3 separate regions of the Homo sapiens genome follow, and regions 1 and 3 are each linked to region 2. The links are contacts of gene promoters, found by promoter capture Hi-C in blood cells and fetal thymus (Javierre and others, 2016). All regions are on one chromosome and are shown on one strand. The core of a region is centred on a gene start or on the middle of the fragment in contact, and the rest is flanking DNA. Distances in the headings are between cores, read along the strand shown. Region 1 holds the start of C21orf91 (chromosome 21 open reading frame 91). Region 2 holds the start of GABPA (GA binding protein transcription factor subunit alpha). Region 3 overlaps BTG3 (BTG anti-proliferation factor 3).

Region 1 (3,490 bases), core at 14-2,513, 7.9 Mb after region 2:
TAGAATGAGAAATTCGAAGAGAAAAAGCACAGGCTTTTCATTTCAATTAGTGCATCTCAAACTTCGATGAACATAGGAATCTCCTGGCGGTCTTGTTAAAGTGCAAGTATTGATTTAGGAAATCTCGAGTGGGGCCTGAGATTCTACATTTCTAACAGGAAACCAAGTAATGTCAATGTTGTTTGTTCATCTACTACAATTTAGGTGGCAAGGACACAGATCGCTCCTGCGAGGCACAAATGCCATAACTGGAGTGCTAATTTGGCCCAGAAGTTTCCAAGATCTAGACAGTCCATTCCTAACCATCAGTTCAAGAATGCCTACATGTAGATTGACAGGCTAGCCCTCTTTCTATGTGAGTGCAACCAGAACACATACATATGATGCTGTAGAAAATAACATTGATCTTAGGTCAGTAGCCTTCGGTTCAAGTCCCAGCCTTTTTCTAACCAACTGTGATAACCTGGGTCAATTACTCGTAGGCTGCAACATGAGAGAACAGTTCCTGTTTCTCCTCTGTAGGTTACTGTGAGGACTACAATGGAAAATGTAAGTGAAAGTACTGCAAGAACCATACCCTAAAAAAAACAGAATAGCTTAAACAAAAGTCAAGCAAAGAATTTGAGAACCAAGCAGGACCTAAAAATAAGAGGTGGGGCTTCGGGATTTTTCCCGTGGGCGTTGAGGGATGTACCATATTGGGGGCAGGGGCGCCCCACAACAAATAATGTATTTGAAAAGATTCTGTATTTGAAATTATGCCTCTATCATGACACCTGAATATGAACTTTTCCTTCGTTAGATACTTCAACTGGCACTTAACTATAAGTTCAGTGACAGTATTCTGCTTCTTTCTCCTGAAGTCAAAGTGCCACCCACGCACCTCTCCCGTTCTGCCATCCACCCGCGGCTTTCCTACCCCCGCCGCCTGCGGCCCCCGCCCCGGGGCAGTAGTTTGCACTAGGCTGAAGGGAGAGGTGGAACGGATTCGTCTATCTACGCACCTCGAGGAGGGGTGTGTGAGGAGCTACGTTCCAGAGAACGGTAAGAAACTCCGGCCAGGAAACACGGGATCACAGGAGAACTCGAGGCGAAGGTGCGGCGTCGGTGCAGGAGCGGAGGGGCGGACCCACAGCAGCCCGGCGAGCGCGCAGGTGTGCCCGCGGCCGCGCCACCCTCCCCGCAGCCTTTACGGGATGGAGCCGGCGGGAGAGGGCGGGGCCAGGCGCGCGGCGGCCGCCTCTGCTGCGGCCGGAAACAATAGTGGAGGAACCCGAGCCGCACGGAACGGCGGTGGTGGCCCGCGGAGCCGGACGGTAAAGACCCCGCAGCCCTGCTCCCATCCCACCTGAGCCCCGACCCCCAGTCCCATCGTTCCGCCTCCTTCGAGTTCCGAGCCCCGTGGCCCCTCGCGCTGCTGCGCGCCAGGCGCCCCGACGGACAGACCGACGGAAAGACGGACTTGGGTCCGCGACTCCCTGGGGGCGGCCGCGCGCCCCCAACGCCGAAGGCCGGGCCAGGACCCGGCTCCCCGAGACGCTGAGGCTGGGCGGACCGGCCGCCGTGGCCCTCGGACGCTTTCTTCCCTCTGGGAGGAATCCCGGAGCGATGGGACGAGGCTCTCCCGCCCGCCGGGCTCCAGGATGCCGCGGCTCTCCCAGCTCCGGCTTGGGCCCCTCCGGCGGTGCCCGGCCGGTACCGTGAAGCCGCCGCTCGGCCTTCGGTGTAGTTGCCCCGGACACGGCGGGACGCCCTCCCCGGGTATTCGGTACCCACGTGCATTTTGCTGCCGCCGATCTCCGTTCGATGCGAAGCTTCGCAACTCCGAGTTCGCGAGGCGCATCTGAGGTTCCCCCAATGAAGTTAGCAAAGCAGTGTCCCGTGCAGGTCGTTTTTCCTGTTTCTCACAGCGTTAACTAGGTTGACAGAACCTGGTAGCTGAAAAGGCCTCGCTGCTAAGCCCTCTGATTATTCGAGGTTGGGGGACGAAGGAGGAGGACTAGAATGCCGGCAAATCTCTTTCCTTCAGGTGCCACTAACCCAATCAACTATAGGACAAAAAAGACACGGACATAGTGTCACCTATGGCCTGGCTTTAAGTTTTACTAGCTTTGTGTCTTTCCACAGGAAAAGTGCAATGTTGGAGTGCAAGTATGGCGATGCTTGTTTGATGGAGCTTTTGCTTTAAATGAGCTGAACAGCATCCTTATTTCCTAGAAGTTCCCAGTAAAGGGAACTACCCCAAAGGCAGGTTCATGAAATTGTGTAACTTTCCTTTTCTGTTTCTTAATAGGGGCACTATGAACGAAGAGGAGCAGTTTGTAAACATTGATTTGAATGATGACAACATTTGCAGTGTTTGTAAACTGGGAACAGACAAAGAAACACTCTCCTTCTGCCACATTTGTTTTGAGCTAAATATTGAGGGTAAGGACACAGTATAGTTTTGATCTTATGGAATGAATTTAACACAGCTGCTTTGTACTGATTGTAAGGTAAAACTAAAATGTCTTCAATGATTGGAAATTGTGCTAAGTATGAATAGTGTAGAGATTTGTTAAAGATAAGGTTTCTGGAAATGAAGGTGCAGTTAACAGAGTTACGAATTTAAGAGAAATCTTTTTTTTTTAAAGACCCCTGCAACAACCCCATTTTTCCTAATACAGAAATAAGTATGAGTGTTGACTGGGAAACGTGTTTTCTGGTTTGAGAGCTTATTGAATTGTCAGATTTTAACAGACCTGTGTGTTTTTTATATTAAGAAGTAACATAACAATTTTTTTATTCTTTCGAGCCTATTATGCAAGTATTTGAGTGAGATGAGCCCGAACTCTTTTCTCACCAGTATGATCTTATTATCTGGAAAAATACTTTAAAATTTTTAGATTAACCTCTTTTCAGTGATCACACACACTGTTGGTAATTTTTAAAACCTGAAAAGGTTTTTAAAATTTTTTTAATAATGTCCCTAAGATATATGAAGAAAAATTCTCCAAATCCAAAAAGAAACCCCAAAAAAAAGCCCTATTGGAAGGATTTATTTGGGTTGGTGCAGTTAGTGTTGTCATATTACAATTGATTTTTGGTTTAGATATTTATGAGTCATACTAAAAAAAACCTTAATATTCCTGCAAAAAAAATTTGGCCTGTAATTTGAGTTTTGAGTTGTAACATATCAGTAGAGAGACTTTATTAAACCTCTAGATTTTGGACAGTTTCAAAATAGTTCTTTCCTTTTTTCTGTATTATATATTTGAAATTTTTCATGATCTTTATTTTCTGTTTACTAAGTATGGGGTATGAAATGTTCTTATTGTTTAAAAAAATATAGTGGGGGATTATATACCTTGAAATTCCTGTTAGGACTTGTTATTCAGAAATTATTATGGTCACCAAACAGTATGTGATGGAAGATTATGGATTTCTTGTGGATTACATAGAATATCTATAACTTCAGCTTTAATAAATGTAGTGATTATAGCTAATTTCA
Region 2 (4,014 bases), core at 157-2,656:
CCTCGTTCTACAATTCGCTCAAGTGAATCCTGCTAAATCTTTGCTCTTCTCACGAGTCAGACCTACTGCTATTAGTGGAAACTACTTATGAAATGAATTTTATTTCTAAATTTCTAATCATCTTGCAATGCAATATTAGGCATTGTCCTCTCGGTCCGCTAACCTGATCAAACTGGGGTCCCTAAATCCAAACACGCACATACAGCGTGTCTTCTAGTACACAAAAAAATTTCCAAGTAGACAACCCATTGTTATCTCCTTGGTTTACTTCCTTGCTTAAAAACAAAAAAACAAACCCAGATGGCTACCATATACGCTGATAAATGATTCTGGTGTGTGTTGTTCTATAAAGAGAGCGGATTTGAAATGAGTGAATCGCTGAGTCCCGCGATGAGACAGGGTCTGCATTTTGCTCTTAAAATCTCGGGGGCGTCAGGACCACATCCCAGCTGAGCAGGCTGAGACTGCTGAGGAGTGCGGACGGGCGAGGAGGGGACGCGGAAAGGAGGGAGCGGCGACAGGCGACCCGTCCGGCACGGGTCCCGGCGGTGCCCGGTCCCCCCGGGCTCCAGGCCGCTCGCCCCCCGCCCCTCCCCTTCGCTCCCCGCACAGCTCTCCCGCCCCTCCCCACCCGGCTCCCTCAAGTCTCCACGAACGGAAATGGGAGTCACAGCGCCGGGGACCAGCGGAAACAAAACACAGAGGCGGCCGCGGGGGGGCCCTTGTGGGGGAAAAGGCCCCGGAACGAGGCCGGCCCGCGAGGGCCCGCGCTCCCCTCCTCCCCGGCGGCCGCACTCACCCACTCCGGAATCGGCCCTGTCGCCCCCGCCCGCACTCCAGAGCCGGCTGAGAACGGCAGCGGCGAGGGCTCCACGTGCAGCGTCTCTCCGGGTAAGACCTGCAGCTCCCGCGACTAGAAGTGTGAGGTCCCAGGGCCCTTCCCGCGGAATCGGCGCTGAGAAGCCCCAACCCCCCTCCCGCCTCCCAGGCACCTTCGGGTCCAGGACTACAACTCCCGGCAGGGTGCGCAAAACGACCGCCCAAGGCAACGGAGGCTCACGAGGTACAAGGAAGCACAACGCCCCAATCCGCTTTGTTTTACACAGTCTCACTTTCCCTGCACCTTTATACACTTCGATAACCCTAACGAACAGGACGCTGACTCGGAGGGGAGCTTGAACTAGGGGAAAGGCCACTCAAAGAGCGCATGCGTACAGAGCAAGGTTTCAAGGAGGGGAAAAAGAACGGGTCAAATTAGGCGAAGAAAAGATGGCGGAGGCTGTGCCAGGGGACCCGGAAGCACTTACCCTCCACTTCCTCCTCCTGTTTGGCTTCTGTCTCACCTAGACCCGTCCGGTCGCAGACTGTCTCCGAGACGCTTCCTGTCCGGTGAGCGTCGACCGACTGAAACGGCGGCCCATAATGCATTGCGATGGCGGGTAGGCGTGTGGGGGCGGAGCCAGGGCCGGAAGTAGAGCGGAGGTGGTGGCGGCGGAGGCTTTGGCAGCTCGGGACTGAGTGCAAGGTGACTGGGAGGGTAGCTAGATCAGCGTGGCCTTTTGGGACTCCAGTTCTGGGTTTTTTCACGAGGCCTGGGCTGCCTCTCACCTTTACTAGGAGGAGAGAGCAGCTCTGTGTCCTGGGGACCTTCACGGCCTGGCCCGGGGTCACAGCTGACCTCTACGTTTGTAGACCTTGGAGTTTGCCGTAGACCCAGAAATAAGATCGATACCCTCTCTGAGGGCAAATCGGGGCGGCGCGGGGGGCAGGGAGGCCCGGGGGTCTCGGGCCCGCAGCCTGGCTGGGGCAACCCAAGGTCAGGCGCGCGGGAGAGATTTTCGGCCAGGCCTACCCGCCCCGGGCGCACGGGAGCGTCTAGGCTACTTAGGCAGAACGTGTACCATTAAGAGGGAAAAAATTAGTCATAATATTGAAAGTTTGCATCCCACCTAAAAACGATGGTGCTAACACTTCATTAGGCGACTTTATGGATTGTTCATAGGAATATGCACTGAAGAGGCAGCGAACCTACTAACCTTTGGCCGGTCAGTCATCACTATAAATAGAACCATGCTCCCACCCAGAACAAGGCCTCTGCTCAGACTAGTGTTTTCTTACTGTTGCCTTCCCCAGTCTTTCTGATCATGTCAGACGCTATCATATGCTCTCGTGGCACCCGATGGTACTGGAATAGAGAATTTATGTCAGGTGGTATTTCACAGCTATTTGTGTAATGACTATCTTCTGCGTTTTAGTGGACAATATGCATTCACTAATCAGTGAAAAAAAATGAAAGGGATTAAAGGAGAAGGAACAAGTTTTGATATGGGATTATGTGTTCGTTTTTTGGATGAGTTCGTAGGACTTATAAGGGAGATGAGAACTGTTGAATGCTGTGGATAGATTTGGGGCTCAGGATGAATACTAAAATTAGAAATGCGATTGGGGAATCATAGGCACTTACATGGTGGATAATTGAAACAATGAAAGTGGATTTTACCCGTGTTGCAGAAGGAGTAACATCTATGCAGTCAGACTTAGAGCAAATTAACTGTGAGAATACGTGCAGCTTAATCTTTCTTAGATACAGTTTTATCATCTGTAAAGCAGGGATAAGAACACTTTAACTCTTTGAGAGTATTGCTGTAAGGGTACAAGGAAAGGATATATATGGAAGTACTTTGCACAGTATCTAGGGCTAAGCAAATGTCGGGTGAACCTATTGCTGAATGTTAAGCATGTCCTTAGTTTGCCAGAAGGGAAAGTGGCATTGAATTGCACAATTTTTTTTTTTGCATATATGTGTTAAGTTAGATTTTGCTGTGTAACTTTGACCAGATACTTTTTTTTTGAGACAGAGTCTCGCTCTGTCGCCCAGGCTGGATTGCAGTGGCACGATCTCTGCTCACTCCAAGCTCCACTTTCCAGGTTTACGCCCTTCTGCCTCAGCCTCCGGAGTAGCTGGGACTACAGGTGCCCGCCACCACGCCTGGCTAATTTTTTGTATTTTTCAGTAGAGACCGGGTTTCACCGTGTTAGCCAGGATGGTCTCGATCTCCTGACCTCGTGATCTGCCCGCCTCGGCCTCCCAAAGTGCTGGGATTACAAGCGTGAGCCACCGCGCCCGACCACTTTGACCAGATACTTCTAATCCTCAGTTTCTGTGTGTTTAAACATAGGAATGATAATAAGTGGCACATGACCTTGTGAGGTCATTTGTTGTTTGCTTGTAGCCTTTTCTCAAGTATTTTTCCCTGATGGGGTATAAAAGTGATATGTTATGAATTCTTTAATTTCTTCAAACAGTTTGCTTTCATTCTGTCAGGTGAAGCATATTTTGTTGATTGCATTGATAGTAGGATTTCTTTTTTTTTTTTTTTTTTTTTTTTTTTGAGACAGAGTTTCACTCTTGTTGCCCAGGGTGGAGGAGTGCAGTGGCGCGATCTCGGCTCACCGCAACCTCCGCCTCCTGGGTTCAAGGAATCTCCTGCCTCAGCCTCCTGAGTAGCTGGGATTACAGGCATGTGCCACCACTCCCGGCTAATTTTGTATTTTTGGTAGAGACGGGGTTTCTCCATGTTGGTCAGGCTGATCTTGAATCCCTACCTCAGGTGATCCACCCACCTTGGCCTCCCAAAGTGCTGGGATTACAACAAAGTGCTGGGATTACAGGCGTGAGCCATCACGCCCGGCCTGATTGTAGGATTTCTTTCTTTCTTTTTTTTTTTTTTTGAGACAGGGTTTCACTCTGTAACACAGGCTGGAATGCAGTGGTGCAATCACAGCTCACTGCAGCTTCTACCTCCCAAGCTCAAGTGATCCTCCAGCCTCAGCCTCCCAAGTACCTGGGACTACAGGCACCCACCACCGCACTTGGCTATTTTTTTTTTTTCTGTAGAGATGGGGTCATACTGTGTTGCCCAGGCTGGTCTTGAATTCCTGGGCTTAAGTGATCCTCCTGCCTTGTTCTTCCAAAGTGCTGGGATTACAGGCATGATCCGCTGCACCTGGCTC
Region 3 (3,558 bases), core at 812-3,311, 8.1 Mb after region 2:
TTATCTTTAATTGGTGGTGCACTTGTCTGTCTTCAAATTAAGAAGCTAATCCCAAATAATACTGGATAACCACTTTTGGTTTGTTTCTGTTTCTGTTTATTCTCCCTCTCTCCTCTTTTTTTTTGGGACGGAGTTTCACTCTTGTTGCCCAGGCTGGAGCGCAATGGTGCATTCTTGGCTGTCTGCAACCTCTGCCTGCCGGGTTCAAGTGATTCTCCTGCCTCAGCCTCCTGAGTAGCTGGAATTACAGGCGCCCACCACTGTGCCCGGCTAATTTTTTTTTATATTTGTAGTAGAGATGGGGTTTCACCATGTTGGCCAGACTGCTCTCAAACTCCTGACCTCGTGATCCGCCCGCCTTGGCCTCCCAAAGCGCTGGATTACAGGCGTGAGCCACTGCGCCCGGCCTCCTCCTTTTTGATTATGTAAGTGACTGAGTGATACTTCGTGGTTTTATTTTTATAATGGAAGTTATTTTTCACATCTCCTAATGAATAGAGTTGTGAAAGATCAGTGCTAGGTATGAAATCTTTTTGAACTCCACTTGCTCAAAAACCATTATTTGTGGACCAGGCACTCTCAGTTGTAGGGTTTTCAAAAACGAAAGCAACATTCTGCTTTTAGGTAATTCAGTTTGAAATTGAGAAGAAAAGTAAGCAAATTACATTGTTATCTGATTTATGTTAGAAATGTGTACAAAATGCAGTGGTAGGTTGCACAAAGTAGAAAGTTACTGCATCTGGTGAGGAGTCAGGAGACTACTGAGTAGGTGATACTTGAGCTGGGAGGTGAAGGATGAGCCATGGTTGACCAGGTGACAAGGTGGGAAGGATGTTCTAACTAGCAGGAAGAAGATGAACAGAGGCATGGAATTCCTGCAAGAATTTTCCTGTGGCTCTGCCTTTAGGATGTTTCTATTTGGTTTTGAGGTACAATTCACCTGACCACCTGGCCTCTTTATTGATTGTAGTAAAGTTGCTTTTTGAAGGAACCCTAACTATGTACTCCTAAGGTGGTCGCAGACTGACCTGATTCCAGCAATGAAGGTGGAGGTGAAGACAGGAGAGATGAATTACATGATTATTCTTCCATTAAATTTTGTCAGGACCACCGCTTGAGGTTACTACCTGATTTGCCAGTGGTTGGTGTAAGTTTATTGCTTTTGGAAACCAGATGTAGGTGGTAGAGGTTTGTGATAAACATTCTCCAATACTTCTTTCTCGGGTAGAAAAGGAGCAAGCTATCTCAAATTTAGGTCTGAGAAAATAAACATTTTTAGATTCTGGGACTAATTAAGGACCTGCTTTAGGCTAGTTTCAGACTTGGAAAACTTTGGCCACTGAACCTGTGCAGAAGACCTCCATTTATAAGAAATAGCTGTCAAAAAGCTACTATATTGAATTGTTTACTTTTTAATTTGACCTGCACTTAGATCCTAGTTGGCTCCTATTTAACACACAGTTAAGTTAGTTGTGTGGTTTCTTAACCCATGAAATGTGAGAAGCAGCATTTTAAAGAGGGTTGATGAGTCAGACGCTACCAAAAAATGTCATGTGGTCTGACATAGAGGCAAAAATGAAAAAGCTAAAAAATCAGCACGATTATGTTATCACACAATCAAATAGTTTACGTTCAATATAATGATCCTAAACCATCAGGGGAAAGTTTTTATGTCCAAGGATGTTTAACAAGTTACATAATTATATAAACATTTTGGACCTATGTATTTAAAATGCTTAAAATAAGTCTCAGTACCTGAACATAAAAACTTTAGTTATACGGACATTCTACTTCAGTAGACATTTCATTACTTGATGATGCCTGGTAGGAAAAAACTGCTACTTTGCTTTCATCTTATTAATCTTAGAAAACCTTTTCATTCAGTAGGCTTCTAATTTATATGTAAATTTGCCAAAAATTGGCTCTGATGTGATTTTTTTCACAGCTAATAGAAATCACCTGCGAGTGTCAGGTGTTCATTCAATAACAGAACCCCAAAAAGAAAGACGTATTAATCGTTTAGTAGAGGTGGTTGATATAAGTTAACAGAAGAAAAAGACATTGAGAAATATTTTTTCACCAAAACTGGAAACATAGATATTTTGAAAATTAAAGCTGATCTAGCAAGTATACAATTGATCAAATATCTGAGAATCTTTAAAAATAATAACTCATTGGTATACTAGAGACTAAGATTGTAAAAAAAAATTGAGATGCACTGAGAACATTCTTCATAGTCTTCACTTACTCTGATAGAATAAAATGCTGCAAGAGTACAAAGAGTGCCATATAGTTAGAAAGGTTATCACTTCGTGATACAGAATAGAAAATAAATCTTGCCTATGATGAGAAGTTCTGAGAACAGATGCCAGCTTATCTACTCAACATATTTTACAACTTTTTTTTTTTTTGGTGATTTCTGCCATCCTTTTTTTCCCCCAATAGAGTGTTAAATACTATTGATTGTTTCTAAATAACTAAATTAGCCTTGATGTTTTATCAGTGATCATTGAAAAATGGAAAGTTTAAAAGTTGTCCAGGTGTCTACTAATTCTCCTAAGATATCGACTGCACATTGTAATGTTATAGTAGTATAGTCAGCAGCTTCTCTTACCATGAAGAGAGAGCCTTCATACCAAAATAGTACAAAGGGAAAAATGCAGAACCAAACTAGGTGTCAAAGAAATCTGAGTTAATAATGCTGATCCTTCAATCATTAGATATTTGCCCTTGGTTGAGGTTTCTGTTTACAAAGGCAGGAATTTTTCTCAAATTTCTTGCCTTTCCATTTTTGAATTTTGATTCCATTAATGGGCAAAACTGAAGATAGGCCTAAGTCATTGTTATATTAGTGTCATTAACACATGAATTAACCCTTGATTGTCTTGAAATTTGTTGAGTCTTCCAACTGTGGAGGGGACATGGAGTAAATGTGTATTGCTAAAACCTTATGCTAAGTAAACTTGAAATTAGAGAACACAAATTTTATGTTGTGAGGAACTCAATTGTTTAGGAATTTATTTTTTGTTTGTTTTGTTTTGTTTTAGAGAGAGGGTCTTGCTGTGTTGTCCAGGCTGGAATGCGGTGGCATGATCATAGCTCACTATAATTGTGAACTCCTGGGCTCAAGCAATCTTCCTGCCTTGACCTTCCAAAGTACTAGAATTATAGATGTAAGCTACCATGTCCAGCTTCTGTTTAGGTATTTTATACTACGAAGAGTCACCAGCCGTAGATCAACCACTATCTAGCCAGCTCCAGCTTCCTCGTCCAGCATATAGGAAACTAAGGCCTAGGGAAATTAAGTGACTTGCCTCTGGTGACCAAGCTAGTCAGTGGCAGAGCCAGAATGAGAAACTAGTCTAATGCCCTTTCTACCATCCCGTAGCAACTTTTTTTTTTTTTTTGAGACGGAGTCTCACTCTGTCGCCCAGGCTGGAGTGCAGTGGTGCGATCTCAGCTCACTGCAACCTCTGCCTCCCAGGTTCAAGCAATTCTCCTGCCTCAGCCTCCCGAGTAGCTGGGATTACAGGCGCACACCACCATGCCCGGCTAATT

What was found. Contacts are between HindIII fragments. The CHiCAGO score rates a contact against its expected background, and 5 or more counts as called.
Region 1: a contact is called between the fragment with the promoter of C21orf91 here and the fragment with the promoter of GABPA in region 2, in 7 of 17 cell types (total B cells, non-activated CD4 T cells, fetal thymus and 4 more). The highest score is 22.6, in total B cells.
Region 3: a fragment that was not itself captured here is called in contact with the fragment with the promoter of GABPA in region 2 in 1 of 17 cell types (total CD4 T cells); the score reaches 5.1 in total CD4 T cells.

The regions. Positions count from the first base shown.
Region 1 is chr21:17,817,129-17,820,618 of GRCh38, reverse strand. It overlaps C21orf91 (chromosome 21 open reading frame 91), which reads left to right and starts at 1,263. Exons shown (of 5, transcript NM_001100420.2): 1 at 1,263-1,316; 2 at 2,294-2,427. The coding sequence starts at 2,301. The region is part of intron 2 of LOC124900465 (a long non-coding RNA gene); the gene reads right to left. RefSeq lists an enhancer at 569-618 and a silencer at 869-1,648. The HindIII fragment of the contact is 2,618 bases long and covers 1-1,816 here.
Region 2 is chr21:25,732,364-25,736,377 of GRCh38, reverse strand. GABPA (GA binding protein transcription factor subunit alpha) reads right to left here and starts at 1,406. Exons shown (of 10, transcript NM_002040.4): 1 at 800-1,406. ATP5PF (ATP synthase peripheral stalk subunit F6) reads left to right here and starts at 1,474. Exons shown (of 4, transcript NM_001003703.2): 1 at 1,474-1,525. RefSeq lists silencers at 413-622, 683-822, 1,763-1,862 and enhancers at 1,323-1,442, 1,463-1,572, 999-1,654, 1,973-2,052, 3,345-4,014. The HindIII fragment of the contact is 6,464 bases long and covers 1-4,014 here.
Region 3 is chr21:17,601,012-17,604,569 of GRCh38, reverse strand. All of the region lies in intron 3 of BTG3 (BTG anti-proliferation factor 3), which reads left to right. It also overlaps a transcript of CXADR not described here. Among named protein-coding and RNA genes, the nearest start is that of BTG3-AS1, 8.9 kb to the left of the region's middle. The HindIII fragment of the contact is 4,212 bases long and covers 1-3,558 here.